5 separate regions of the Homo sapiens genome follow, and all the other regions are linked to region 3. Evidence: promoter capture Hi-C in 16 types of primary human blood cells and fetal thymus (Javierre and others, 2016). All regions are on one chromosome and are shown on one strand. Each heading gives the region's core, a stretch centred on a gene start or on the middle of the fragment in contact. The rest is flanking DNA. Distances are from core to core; before and after follow the strand shown. Region 1 holds the start of KDSR (3-ketodihydrosphingosine reductase). Region 2 holds the start of BCL2 (BCL2 apoptosis regulator). Region 3 holds the start of PIGN (phosphatidylinositol glycan anchor biosynthesis class N). Region 4 overlaps KDSR (3-ketodihydrosphingosine reductase). Region 5 has its middle 23 kb from the start of VPS4B.

What was found. Contacts are between HindIII fragments. The CHiCAGO score rates a contact against its expected background, and 5 or more counts as called.
Region 1: a contact is called between the fragment with the promoter of KDSR here and the fragment with the promoter of PIGN in region 3, in 1 of 17 cell types (non-activated CD4 T cells). The highest score is 5.3, in non-activated CD4 T cells.
Region 2: a contact is called between the fragment with the promoter of BCL2 here and the fragment with the promoter of PIGN in region 3, in 1 of 17 cell types (fetal thymus). The highest score is 8.1, in fetal thymus.
Region 4: a contact is called between a fragment that was not itself captured here and the fragment with the promoter of PIGN in region 3, in 1 of 17 cell types (fetal thymus). The highest score is 5.9, in fetal thymus.
Region 5: a fragment that was not itself captured here is called in contact with the fragment with the promoter of PIGN in region 3 in 1 of 17 cell types (naive B cells); the score reaches 6.7 in naive B cells.

The regions. Positions count from the first base shown.
Region 1 is chr18:63,365,849-63,368,618 of GRCh38, forward strand. It overlaps KDSR (3-ketodihydrosphingosine reductase), which reads right to left and starts at 1,358. Exons shown (of 10, transcript NM_002035.4): 1 at 1,163-1,358. The coding sequence starts at 1,270. It overlaps KDSR-DT (KDSR divergent transcript), which reads left to right and starts at 1,476. Exons shown (of 2, transcript NR_186602.1): 1 at 1,476-2,011. It overlaps LOC124904317 (a long non-coding RNA gene), which reads right to left and starts at 1,152. Exons shown (of 2, transcript XR_007066400.1): 1 at 402-1,152. RefSeq lists enhancers at 448-742, 782-1,729 and silencers at 591-640, 991-1,050, 1,121-1,570, 1,681-1,730. The HindIII fragment of the contact is 10,630 bases long and covers 1-2,447 here.
Region 2 is chr18:63,318,309-63,321,026 of GRCh38, forward strand. It overlaps BCL2 (BCL2 apoptosis regulator), which reads right to left and starts at 1,461. Exons shown (of 3, transcript NM_000633.3): 1 at 866-1,461; 2 at 1-644. The coding sequence starts at 358. RefSeq lists silencers at 83-322, 1,678-1,867, 2,028-2,237, 2,268-2,337. The HindIII fragment of the contact is 7,545 bases long and covers 1-2,718 here.
Region 3 is chr18:62,185,727-62,188,577 of GRCh38, forward strand. It overlaps PIGN (phosphatidylinositol glycan anchor biosynthesis class N), which reads right to left and starts at 1,330. Exons shown (of 31, transcript NM_176787.5): 1 at 1,118-1,330. RELCH (RAB11 binding and LisH domain, coiled-coil and HEAT repeat containing) reads left to right here and starts at 1,529. Exons shown (of 29, transcript NM_001346231.2): 1 at 1,529-2,305. The coding sequence starts at 1,780. RefSeq lists silencers at 832-1,044, 1,995-2,214 and an enhancer at 1,635-1,844. The HindIII fragment of the contact is 4,021 bases long and covers 1-2,851 here.
Region 4 is chr18:63,335,390-63,338,178 of GRCh38, forward strand. The region is part of intron 8 of KDSR (3-ketodihydrosphingosine reductase); the gene reads right to left. Among named protein-coding and RNA genes, the nearest start is that of BCL2, 17 kb to the left of the region's middle. The HindIII fragment of the contact is 6,476 bases long and covers 1-2,789 here.
Region 5 is chr18:63,444,306-63,447,037 of GRCh38, forward strand. No RefSeq gene overlaps it. Among named protein-coding and RNA genes, the nearest start is that of VPS4B, 23 kb to the left of the region's middle. RefSeq lists a silencer at 436-545. The HindIII fragment of the contact is 2,224 bases long and covers 212-2,435 here.

The DNA.
Region 1 (2,770 bases), core at 108-2,607, 1.2 Mb after region 3:
AGGAACAGGAGGTGTTGGAAAAAGCTAATAGCTTTACAAAGGAGAAATTAAACAGATACATTTTCTCATTCACAAACCCTTGTACAGATTTAAAGCATACTAAGAAAAACGACCATCTTATTTTATACCAGCTCAGCGGGGAGGCTCGGATCTCCGGTGCAGAGATAGGACAGGAAGAGGTGTGCGGCCAATTTTGTAACCAACCCTCCTTACTCCTAACTCCTCGCCTCACTGTGCCTCGGGTTTGGGAGATCCAAACGAGAATGCTCGTGAGAAAGCCACTGCAAACGGGAAAGTGCTGGGCGCAGGCAAGGAGGCATTCTCTCTGTTTAAGAAAGGTGCCACATTTGCAGAACAGGGATCGCTGAATATGCGAGCTTCCGCCAAGAAATAAATCACACCTATCCACCTCTCCTTCATTCCTCGCACACAAGCCTTGTCGTTTAGCTCATCCTTCCCACTAGAAAACAGCAAAGGATTGCATTGGAGCAGCAATCAGCAGATGCCACGCTGAGCTCAGAGACAAGCAGTGTAGACGGGACAGGCGTCCCAATACCGCTAAGCCACCACCGCCAGCCCGCTGGGTTCTGAGCAGTTTCCCCAGGTGAGTCACTTCCTGGAATCCTCTGGCAGCGGCTCTTCCCGTCACTCGCACAGGCCATCTTCCAGTTCCGAGCTGCCTCGGCGGGTCCCGGCGGCTGGGACCCCACTTCCCCGCTGTCTGCCCCCGCCCGGGGCCGCGCGCCGCACCCTGCACACCACCGACCGCTGTGTCCTTGGCAAAGTTTCTCAGCCTCTCTGTGCCTCAGTTGACTCATCGGAAAAACTGAGGACAAAACATCCACATCCCAGGGATGTTGCATGGATTCACGAGCAGCCACAGAACCCCTGGGGCCCCGGGAACCCTGCGGCCGGCGGGGTCCCCCGTCGCACGCTCTCCGGCCCTAGGAGGAGCCCGAGGCTGCGGAGGGCGGGTCCGCGAGGCCGGGTGCCGGGGCCGGGGGAAAAGCGCCGGGGTGGACGGCGGCAGGTGACCTTCCCCATTTGGCCATGCCTTCCTGGGGACCGCGGCCTGGAAAAAGGGACGTAGGCTACGCGGCCTCGGCGGCGGAAAGGCCGCGCGGGCCGGTAAGTCGGGGGGCAGCAACAGGAGGCCACTCACCACCACATGCGCCCCGGGCAGGGCGAGGGGCTTGGGGCTGATGAGCGGAGACACCATGTACAGCAGCAGCACGAAGGCCACGAGGAAGGCGGCAGCCAGCAGCAGCATCGCTCCGCGGGGCCAGGGGCCCGGAGCGGCCGGGCGGGGGCCGCCGGGCAAGGCGCGCAGGGCTGGGCTGCGGCGAGGCGAGAATCACGCGCGGCGGGCGGGCGCCTGGAGTGTTTGGGTTTGCGGGCCGGGGCGGGCCGCGGCGGAGGGGAAGAGGAGGAGCCGGCGCGCGCGCCACCCAGGCGGGGCGGTGCTTCCAGGGGGCGAGTAGGCCGCCACCGCCACCGCCACCGCCACCACTGCCAGAATCGCCTCTCGGGGGTCGCCGGGTGTCTCCCACTCCCCCGGCCTCGGGACGGGGCCCGCAGTCCGCAGCCTCTCCCGTGGAAACCGGGCCTCCCGTCCCTGTGCGTCGCGAGCGGGCTCCGGACAGCGCCAGATGCGAGCGCGCCGGGAAGGGCTGCGAAGACTCGCTCTTCGGGAGCTCGAATGGCTTCTTAGGACCCCGCAGGGCGGGTTTCCAGGCCTGCCACGGCCTCCAGTGTGGGCGTGACGAGCGCTCCTCCCTGGAGTTCAGCCCTCGGCTTGGGACTGCCCGCTGGGTTGCTCGGAGGCCCCGGAGCATCGGAAAGGGCGGCTGGAGGCTCCCGGAGCGGGCTCAGCCTGGGAGCCCAGCGACTACGCTCTGAAATCCCGGGCTCCATTCCATATTTTTTGGCGTTTTTAGAAGATGGTCACGGCCCACTTTCGCTTTTCAGAGGACCGGAAAGCCTTAACAGGGAGTTTTGAGGAATCACTAAGGTAATTCAATTTCATTGAGTTCAGAGTTCATCTTTACCAAGCAGGTTCAAAACAAATAAATAACGCAAACAACTCAGCTTTATTAAGGTCTCATTCACGTACTATACCATACAATTCCCGATTTAACGTGCGTAATAGGCCGGGCGAGGTAGCTCGCGCCTGTAATCCCCGACCTTTGGGAGGCTGAGGCGGGCGGATCTCTTCAGGTCTGGAGTTCGAGACCAGCCTGGCCATGATGGTGAAACCCCCGTCTCTACTAAAAATACAAAAAATCACCCGGGCATGGTGGCGTATGCTTGTAATCCCAGCTACCCTGGAGGCTGAGGCAGGAGAATCGCTTGAACCCGGGAGGCAGAGATTGCGGTGAGATCGCGCCACTGCACTCCAGCCTGGGTGACAGATCAAGACTCCGTCTCAAAAATAAATAAATAAATAAAGCTTATAATAAATTGTCTTTAATATAGTCACAGTTGTAGACCCATCACTACCATAAATTTTAGAACATTTTTGTCACAACCCCCCAAAATCCTATACTCATTGGCAGTCACGACCCATTTCCTCCCAAGCCCCGCCCAAGCCTAAGCAATCCCTCATGTTTCTGTCTCTATAATCTTGCCTATTCGGGATATTTCACATAAATGGAATCATATAATATGTAGCCTTTTTCATCCTATCTTTCACTTACTGTAATGTTTTCAAGGTTCATCCATGATATGAAGTACTACATGTTAATACTTCATTTATTTTTATTGCCAAATA
Region 2 (2,718 bases), core at 211-2,710, 1.1 Mb after region 3:
GCAGCTGGCTGGACATCTCGGCGAAGTCGCGGCGGTAGCGGCGGGAGAAGTCGTCGCCGGCCTGGCGGAGGGTCAGGTGGACCACAGGTGGCACCGGGCTGAGCGCAGGCCCCGCGGCGGCGCCGGGGGCAGCCGGGGTCTGCAGCGGCGAGGTCCTGGCGACCGGGTCCCGGGATGCGGCTGGATGGGGCGTGTGCCCGGGCTGGGAGGAGAAGATGCCCGGTGCGGGGGCGGCCCCCGGGGGCGCGGCGCCCACATCTCCCGCATCCCACTCGTAGCCCCTCTGCGACAGCTTATAATGGATGTACTTCATCACTATCTCCCGGTTATCGTACCCTGTTCTCCCAGCGTGCGCCATCCTTCCCAGAGGAAAAGCAACGGGGGCCAACGGCACCTCTCGCCCCAGCTCCCACCCCACGGCCCCCAGAGAAAGAAGAGGAGTTATAATCCAGCTATTTTATTGGATGTGCTTTGCATTCTTGGACGAGGGGGTGTCTTCAATCACGCGGAACACTTGATTCTGGTGTTTCCCCCTTGGCATGAGATGCAGGAAATTTTTATTCCAATTCCTTTCGGATCTTTATTTCATGAGGCACGTTATTATTAGTAAGTATTGTTAATATCAGTCTACTTCCTCTGTGATGCTGAAAGGTTAAAGAAAAAACAAACTAATAAGTAAAAAATCAGGTGCGTTTCCCTGTACACACTGAGTGAAAGCAGGGCATACACACTACAAGTAACACGGCTAAAAAGAATGTATTAAGCTGCCTGGAAATTAAATTTACTCGAATGCACTTTAAGTAAAAAATCTCAAAGGTTTCCATTGAAAGTTACATTAAACCAATTTCCTGTGCAGAGAACTTACTTGTATTTTTTAAGTACAGCATGATCCTCTGTCAAGTTTCCTTTTTGTAAAACCAAAACAAATGCATAAGGCAACGATCCCATCAATCTTCAGCACTCTCCAGTTATAGCTGATTTGAAACTTCCCAATGAATCAGGAGTCGCGGGGAGAGGGAGTAAAAATTAGGAGGATTTCCAGATCGATTCCCAGACTTCTGCTTCACAGAAATGTCAATCCGCAGGAATCCCAACCGGAGATCTCAAGAGCTCGAGAAAAAAAAAAGGCAGCGGCGGCGGCAGATGAATTACAATTTTCAGTCCGGTATTCGCAGAAGTCCTGTGATGTTTTCCCCTTCTCGGCAATTTACACGCGCGCACACACGCGCGGGCACAGGCATGAATCTCTATCCACGGGACCGCTTCACGCCTCCCCAGGAGAGAGACAGGGGAGAGGGGACGATGAAGGAGCCGGGGACGGAGGCAGGAATCCTCTTCTGATTAAACTCCGAACAGCAAATGCATTTTCCGAAAAGCTGCTGGATAAATGAAGGCAGGACGCGCCTGGCCCGCCGGTGCCGAGCGCTAGAAGCCCGCGCTGTGTGTGGTGCGGCGAGGGGTGGGGAGAAGGAGGTGGTGGGGGAGGGTTTTATTTTTTCCCTCTTTTCCTAAAAAGGATGACTGCTACGAAGTTCTCCCCCCTGGACCCCCTCTTCCGCTGCACCCCACCGGCGCACCCCGCCTCCGGGCTGCGCACCCTTTCTCCTCCTCCTGGTCCTGCGCGGCGGCGCTGGCTACGGCCGCCTCCCGGAGCTCCCGCCGCGCAGCCCGCTCCGAGCGCTGACGGCCGCCGGCAGGGAGGGCCCGGAGCCCCGGCACCTTCGCTGGCAGCGGCGGCGGCGGCAGCGCGGCGGGGCCACGGAGAGCGGCGGGCGGGAGCGCGGCGGGCGGGCGGGCAGGCGGCGCGGAGGGGCGGGCGCGGGAGGAAGGGGGCGGGAGCGGGGCTGTGGTGCCTGTCCTCTTACTTCATTCTCTGCACAGCCCGACCGGTTTCCTGTGCGTAACGTCACACGGTTCATTCAAAAAAAGAAGAAAGAAAGAGCCCTCCTCTGAGCCACCCGACCGCCCCCTCCGCCCCGCTCCCTGGCCCGGGTTAAAGGCGCCGCGGCAGGCCCGGGAGTGGCGCGTCCCGCCGGGGGCACATGGCGCGCGGGGCCGCGGCCGGGGAGGGCGCGTCCGGGCCGGCCACCCGCCCGCTCCGCTGCGCCCGCGGGGCCCGGCCAGTGGGTGGCGCGGGCGGCACAGGCCTCCCGCGCGGCCGCGGCGCGGTGGGTGTGCGCGGGGCCTTCTGCTCAGGCCTGCGGCAGGCCGCGTGCGGACTTGGTGGTCGCTGGGGTCCGCGACGGGGTGGGGGCTCCCGGGGAACCGCACGCGGCCGGGCCGGGCGGACGACGGAGTGCGGAGGGGGGCGGCTGGCGGGAGGGTGCGCCATGAAAACAAGGGCTGGAAAAGCGCCGGGAACCGCCTGGACCCTTTCTGGCCGTGTGAGTGTGTGTGGAGTGTGTGTGTGTGTGTGTGTGTGTGTGTGTGTCTCGCCTGGACCTTTTCTAGCCGTGTATGTGGGAGTGTGTGTGTCGCCTGGACCCTTTCTAGCCGTGTATGAGAGTGTGTACACGCGCCTACACACACACACGTTGTGTTACCGGCGCTCGGCCGCCGGGGGAAGACCCAGGCCAATGCCGCCCCCCACCGCCCCCAGCAGTGGGACCTCAGCGCTGCCCTGCTGTGAAGACAGGTGACTCTGCACGTTTTAAGCAATGTCTAGGGACGCCCCGAGCGTGGTGTTTACTTTCAAGTAGCTTCCTAGGTGTCCGCGCA
Region 3 (2,851 bases), core at 80-2,579:
AGGAGCCATAAGAAATAGCAGTCTAATTGTATTGACTGGAAATTCCTTTACCTTTTCAGATCATAATCAAGGAATGACATAAAAGATAAACGTTGATCTTCTAAACTTAGGATATGTACTTTATATGCTAACATTTCATCAAAAAAATCAAAACTCTCTGAAGCATTCAACTTTTAAAATAGTTCTAAGTTCCAAAACCTTGATTCTAGCCTGCATGAACGAGTCAGAAATGTTGCAGGAGACAGTGGATAAAGAATCGTTTGGGACATAAGAGAAATGATGTTAATTCCTTTGACTCCTTATTAGCGGAATTGATTTTTTTTTTTTTTTTTTTTTTTTTTTGAGACGGAGTCTCGTTCTGTCGCCCAGGCTGGAGTGCAGTGGCGCGACCTCGGCTCACTGCAATCTTCGCCTCCGGGGTTCAAGCGATTCTCCTGCCTCAGCCTCCTGAGTAGCTGGGATTGCAGGCTTGCGCCACCACGCCCAACTAATTTTTGTGTTTTTAGTAGAGAAGGGGTTTCACCATGTTGGTCAGGCTGGTCTCGAACTCCCGACCTCGTGATCCGCCCGGCTCGGCCTCCCAAAGTGCTGGGATTACAGGCGTGAGCCACCGCGCCCGGCGTGGAGCTGATTTTATAACAACCACTCTTGGCTTAAGTTTACTTATCTGTCTACTGGTGAGACAGCATTAGATATTCTGAAGGGTCCCTGTTGTGTAAATCGTGTATTAAATCCTAAGCGTTTATTGAGTACCTAACAATTTGTTTTCCAACTCGACGATGTTCCCAGATCCAGGCAAATGCCAACCTCAGCGTTCCCTTTTCCGTTTAGTCTCTCCAGCCCCCGTCCCCACCCACAGGCAGGACCACCTCCGGGGCTGAGAAGTCGTGCTGTCGCTAGGCCTCCCGAGTGTGCAAGCATGTGGCAGAGAAGGGAAAAGAAAGGAAGTCACATTCCGACTACAGGCCTGGGCACTTGCTATCCATGGGGACAAAATGTCACCACTGGCAGCAAATAGCGAGAAAAAGTGCAGCGCAGTAGGGAAACAGCGCGTCCGCGGGCGCGACACCACAGTTTGGGCGCCGACACCCTCCGCGCACTGGTCCCTGAACTTTACCTGGAGCTTATCCCGGTCAGGCCTGATCTCGAAAACGAGGGCTCCTCAGCGCGAAGGCAGGACCCAGCTCCATTAAAGCTCTCGGGCAGTGGTCCCCTCTACCCACTGAAGCGATAGCCGGGAGGGTATTCCTAAGCCACCACTACAACCACCCCTCAATTCCGGAACGCCCCCAATACCTGCCCGGCCGCTGCTGCTATCGCGATAATTCTCGGGCCAGTCTCCCGTCAGTCCGCTCCACGCCTTCCTTCTCTGACCAATCATGGAGGAGTCGTGGGTGGAGTTTTGCTTTTGAGCGGAGAGCGGGGCCTTCAATCTTTGCTATCTGGCGCTGGGAATGGGCGGAGCTGAAGTGGGCTGGGGCGGGGCTGGGGCGGGGCTAGATCGGGGAGAGGGGCAGGGGCACGCTCCAGTTCTCGCGAGACTGGAGACCAGGAAGACGCCTGCAGAGCCGGGCTGCTGGTGCAGCAGAGGCTGAGGCATCAGGTGCAGCTGCATCCGGATCTCCTGCCTTGGAGCGTACTCCTTGTCTCTAAGTCGGGAGGCAGGACGTGGTCAGGCCGGGGCTGTGGAGGTGCGCTGTGTCCCCTGAGGCCTAGAGGATTCGGGCTGCGGCCCGTCGGAACCAGTCAGGGAGGCGCCCACACTCCTGACAGGATAAGATGGCGGCGATGGCGCCTGGAGGTAGTGGCAGTGGTGGCGGCGTGAATCCATTTCTCAGTGATTCGGATGAGGACGATGACGAGGTAGCTGCAACAGAGGAACGGCGGGCAGTACTTCGGCTGGGCGCCGGAAGTGGCCTAGATCCTGGCTCTGCGGGCTCGCTGTCGCCACAGGATCCCGTGGCCTTAGGAAGCAGTGCGCGGCCAGGGCTCCCTGGGGAGGCGTCGGCGGCTGCAGTGGCCCTGGGGGGCACCGGGGAGACCCCGGCCCGATTATCAATTGATGCGATCGCTGCTCAGCTGTTGCGCGATCAATACTTGCTGACCGCCCTGGAGCTGCATACCGAGCTGTTAGAGAGTGGCCGGGAGCTGCCTCGGCTGCGCGACTACTTCTCCAATCCAGGCAACTTCGAGAGGCAAAGTGGAACCCCGCCGGGGATGGGGGCGCCAGGGGTCCCTGGAGCAGCCGGCGTTGGGGGCGCTGGAGGTCGGGAACCGAGTACAGCGTCGGGCGGGGGACAGCTCAGTAAGTGGACGCAGCCTGTCACACTCCGGCAGGGTATTTGGGATTGTACGGAGTTACTGTAGGGGAGAGGGGGTATTTCTGCGTGGGTCCCGATAGGGACATTTTAAGGAACGAGAGTATTGGGGTGGGGGCGCTCTTTTGCGGTGGAAGCAAGAGGATCAGGCAATGACTGTTCTCTCTGCCTGCTTCCAACCCTTGGCTGGTGTTGCACTTGGCTCCTGGCTCCCCTACTGGTGTCAGTATCTATAAAATATCAAGAGTTTCTAGTTCACTGGCTATTACGGGACTCCAGAAGGTTCCCTTTTATACTAGTTTATTGCTTTAAGCATTTTCCTTTTTCTCCAGTTACCTGAATCACACTACCAGGAAATAGTGTTACCTGAATTGCCTGCAGTAGTTCTTTGAGTCTGAGCCAGGAGAGAAAGAATAGGACACACTGCTGCTGTCTCCGAAAAGTCAGATGTACTTAAGACCCTTTGTCTTTGGGACGACTTTTTCACCGCCAAAATTGGGTTTTCTGCTGCACAAAATTTGTTCTGTTGAGAT
Region 4 (2,789 bases), core at 1-2,500, 1.1 Mb after region 3:
AATCCTAGTAATGTGGACAGAAATCAGTCGGACACATCAGAAACAGTGGAGTGTGCTCGTTCACTTTAAGTGAGATAAAATGGTCACAAAGCATTGATCAGCACTCAGAAATGGACGCACGGCCTTGGCAGATGGCAGTTCTCAACAAGTGAGTCCACGGACCCCTGCGGGCCCCCAAGGACAAATGATTGTCCTAATAACACTAAGACATTCATTGTCTTTTCCACAGTGTGTTGTATGGAAAATACAGTTTTGCCTCTGCAAAACTGCAGAGACATGGGCAAGAACCACGGGGTTCTTGCCAAACTGTACTAGGAGTCATTGTCACCTCTACTACCACACGCACTCGCAGTAATAAATAATACACAAAGAAAATACAAGTTCTAAAATTCTTTTAAAAATCAAAGTGTCAGTTTTGCTTTAAAATCCTCTTGATAAAGCAGGAAAATTCATCATTTTGTTCAATGGCAACCCTCGAGGACATGTCTTCTTAATACTCTGTGTGACAAATGAGAATGCGCCCAACGCGCTTCCGCAGCACTGCATTCCAGGGCGGGACAACTGCCTGGAACAAAAGTCCTTGTGCAGCTCCTGAAGTCAAGGGCTAAACTGCCACTTCTTTCATGGAGCATCATTTGTATTGTTTATTTATTTATTTTCGACAGAATCTCACTCTGTGGCCCAGGCTGGAATGCAGTGGTGTGATCTCTGCTCACTGCAACCTCTGCCTCCCAGGTTCAAGTGATTCTCCTGCCTCAGACTCCCAAGTAGCTGGGATTACAGGCATGCACCACCACACCCGGGTAATTTTTGTATTTTTAGTAGAGATGGGGTTTCACCATGTTGGCCAGGCTGGTCTCAAACCCCTGAGCTCAAGCAATCCAGCCGCCTCGGCCTCCAAAAGTGCTGGGATTACAGGCATGAGCCACCGTGCCTGGCTGGAGAGCATAATTTTTATATGAAAGACCATTGACAGGAAATCTATAGTAATTCAGACTTAGGTATGTGGCAGATGTGCAGAAAGCGAAGCAAGCAAGTGTGTCACTTCAGGAAAAACAACTGGCCACGTGTCATCAATGTGAAATCTGAGCCTTCAAGAAAAAATTAAGATTTGGAAAAACTAGTATCCACCATCACGAGACTGTCAGCTGCATACTTTTATGATAAGATCAGCAGTAATACTGATGAAAGCGATTTTTCTGATCACTCAGTCAACCCATATTTTCCAAATGACTAATGCATAATGTTACGAAATCATGAATGGTTAAAAGATCCATTCAAAGTACAAGACGGACCAATGGAATTTAATGTAACAGAGAACAAAACATTCATTGATGTAGTTTCCAATTCTATACTGCAACTAACCTTTAAGAAACTACCATTTGTTGAGTTTGGGTTTGATATCAAAAAAGAATGTCCATAATTATCTGAAAAGCCTAGTAAAATAGTCTTCCCTTTCCCAACTCCGTATCTGTCTCAGGCCAGATTTTCTGTATATCCTTCCATCAAAACAACATTATTACAACAGATGGAATGCAGAAGCAGCTATTTGAATCCAGCTGTTAATGCAGACCTTAAAGCAACTGGTGAAAATGTGAACCAATGCCACCGTCCTCACTGAACTTTTGTTTTGAAAAGTAGTAAATTTTGTTTAAAAAAAGTCACTTTATATATATGTGACTTTATATATATATATATGTGACTTTATATATATATATATGTGAATATATATATATATATATATATATGGAGTTTTGCTCTTGTTGCCCAGGCTGGAGCACAATGGCTCAATCTCAGCTCACTGCAGTCTCCACCTCCTGGGTTCAAGCGATTCTCCTGTCTCAGCCTCCCAAGTAGCTGGGATTACAGGCGCATGTCACCACACCCGACTAATTTTTGTATTTTTAGTAGAGACGGGGTTTCATCATATTGGTCAGGCTGGTATTGAACTCCTGACTTCAGGTGATCCGCCCGCCTTGGCCTCCCAAAGTGTTGGGATTACAGGCACGAGTCACTGTGCCCAGCCATTTTTGTTATTTTTAATGAATCAATAAATATTACAAACAGCTTCCATTTCAAATATGGCAAATATCAATAAATATAGCCATGTAAATAAACAAAAGTTCTCTGGGGTTGTTGACAATTTGTAAGAATGTAAAGTGGTCAAGAGAAGAAAAGTTTGAAAACCACTAAACTAAATGAATACTGCCAAAATACTAAGAGCTATTTAGCATCATTAGAAACACTGAATGGGCTGGGCACGGAGCTCACGCCTGTAATCCCAGCACTTTGGCCAAGAGGCTGAGGCGTGCGGATTACCCGAAATCAGGAGTTCGAGACCAGCCTGGCCAACATGGTGAAGCCCCATTTCTACTACAAATACAAAAAATTAGCCAGGTGTGGTTGTGAGCACCTGTAATCCCAGCTACTCAGAAGGCCGAGGCAGGAGAATCACTTAAACCCAGGAGGCAGAGGTTGCAGTGAGCCAAGATCGTGCCACTGCACTCCAGCCTGGGCAACAAGAGCAAAACTCCGTCTCAAAACAAACAAACAAACAAAACAACAACAACAACAAAAAACACCAAATGCATTTGCTTTGACCCGAGATAAGCAGGAAAAATAAAGTCTCACTTGTGCCATCTTCCTGAGCCTTTTAATGCACTCAGGACAAAGTTCTTCACACATGTATATATTTCAACAGAATTCACTATTCTCATTCTGCTCAGTTCAGTCTAATGTGACAGCATTTAGGCCACTTCAAGGCTGTCCACCATGTGCTGACACCTCTC
Region 5 (2,732 bases), core at 74-2,573, 1.3 Mb after region 3:
GTTCAAGAAATTCTCCTGCCTCAGCCTCCCGAGTAGCTGGGATTACAGGCGCCTGCCACCATGCCCAACTGATTTTTGTATTTTTAGTAGAGATGGGGTTTCACCATGTTGGCTAGGCTGATCTCGAACTCCTGACCTCAAGTTATCCACCTGCCTCGGCTGAGATTATAGGTGTGAGCCACCTCATTCAGCCTGAAACATAGTTCTAAAAAGCTTATTTTTCATTCCTTTTTTTTCCTGTTTATTCAATTTAACAAGTGTTGTGGTTGGAAATATAGATTGCTTATTTCTTGAGTACTTACTTTTAAACCTGAGTGAATGCCTAGACATTTGAAAACTCAATAAATTAAAAGCACGTGGTAGCTTATAGAAATATTACAACACACACACACACCCAGTATGTCTGAGTGAGTCAAACGGAGTGTCTTTGCAAAATGTGCTGTCTGAATGAGACAGCGATTATGTCACTCATTGGCAATAAACACTTGTGGAGCCATCACTGAGGCTGACAGGAAGTTAAAAAAAGAGTCTCTGGGGAAACAGCTTGTTCTGCTTCTGATTCCATGAGATGTAACTATGTCTCTCGAAATGCGTACATATATATTTTATTACTTATTACCACATAAAACTTCATCCCTAAGGTAGGGTGCCCATCGTGATGATGGATTTGAGTACTAGCATTCATTCTTCAAAGGCACAGTTCAGCAACCCCATTCCTGGGGTGAATATGCGCCTGAAATGGGAGCTATTTTCTTTAATGGCCAAAACCCCCCACAGAACAACCAAAAACCACACCCAAAAATTCTTCCCCATTCTTCCTCAAAGTGTGAATTCATTCTCTTGAGCCAAGATTCACAGAAGACAAGGTGCTGGGCATCATGTAGCAGAAAAGCCCTCATTCCTAGAAGCTGGAACCCATGATCCTCTTGTTGGGGCCTGTTAGGGTGATTCTCTGTTGGAACAAACCCCACTCGGAGCTGGGCCCAGTCCCTGGGCAGAGAGCCTGCCCAGTCACATTTGTATCCTAAAGCCAAATATCTTGTCTTATGAGGAAATTAACCAGTTCTCCTAGACGTTTTATGGGAGCAGCAGAGAGGGTGGGTTTGACTGAGGAGAGAGAGAAAGAAAGGCCCAGAGAGAGGAGCCAAGCCTCATTGGCTTAGAGTTATTGGGAAAAACGTGAGTTTACATAAAGGAAAATTCTAAATTATGGAGTATCTCAAAAGAAATATAATTTAATATTTGAAAGTATGTAATAAACACAAATACCTATGGTTATTAGTCAACTAAATGAAAAGGTATAATTTTTCTTTTTTCTTTCTTTTTTTTTTTTTTCTTTTTTCTTTCTTTCTTTTTTTTGAGACAGAATCTCCCTCTGTGGCCCAGGCTGGAGTGCAGTGGCATGATCTCGGCTCACTGCAATCTTTGCCTCCCGGGTTCAAGTGATTCTCTTGCCTCAGTCTCCTGAGTAGCTGGGATTAAAAGTGTGCATCACTACACCCAGCTAATTTTTATATCTTTAGTAGAGACAGGGTTTTGCCATGTTGGCCAGGCTGGTCTTGAACTCCTGACCTCAGGTGATCCACCCGCCTTGGCCTCCCAAAGTCCTGGGATTACAGACGTGAGCCATGGTGCCCGGCCTAGACACACTCTTGTACTGCCATTACCCCTCCAGGGTTGTCATGACCTGTAACCCCAGGGGGGACTTTTTGATAGAGACGTGCTGTCTCCCTGGGCCTCCTCCAGCATTTGAGGCTCCAGTGATCCGCCCACCTGGGCCTCCCAAAGTGCTAGGATTACAGGCATGAGCCACTGCACCTGGCCTACAAAAGTATAATTTTTCTTAGTCCTACATTGTATATTAATATATCATAAACATTAAAAAGTGATTTTGAGCTTTTAAACAAATACAATTCAGTGCTATGTATACATAAGAATAAATTTTAAATTCGTGAAGTTAAAATCAAGGAAGATCTTTGGCTTGTTATTATTAATTGTTGCTTAATCATTGCAATAATAACTGCTCTAAGGTTTCTGAAAGGGCATCTGAGAGGTGACACTCTTTGCAATGGAACAATTTGAATTCAGTGACCCGTGGGACTTACTTCATTGGTAACAGACTTGGACAATACTAATTGGTCTGGAGATGGACATGTGACCAGAGTTTGGCCAATCAGCATGCTGCCTTGAGGTCTGCCTGCCTGGAGCTGGCCGGATAGAGCTTTGTGCTCTCTGGCCATGGGGTAGGTGTTGATGAAGCTGTAGGTCTCCTGTTGCCTGGGGAAAGTCCACCTGCAGCGGTAGACTGAGGCCAACATGCAGAGAGAAGCAGAGATGAAAGGAAGTGAGATAATGTCCTGCCTGGGCTAAATCCCTGGTCTTTGCCTACCCTACTTGTTTAAATGGACATATACTGTCTCCTTTCACTGTGGGCAAGCTTATGTTTCTGTTACTTGCAAGCAAAAGGATCTACCTGATCCATTACTCATTAGTATTATTTCCTTGAATTTGCAAGGAAACTGAACACTAAGGCACTGGTGTGAAGTTTGTTGTCATGTTGTACGTCGCATCTGTAGCTTCATGGGTACTCCTTTAGGTGTTTCTATGTGTTTACTTATGATTAAGGCACTGCTGATGGGAATGGTATATACTGTTTGATATATTGTTAAACAAAGTTGCACAATTGAAGGCTTGCTTTACATAGCTGGAAAGTATATCCCGTTGTTTGTGTG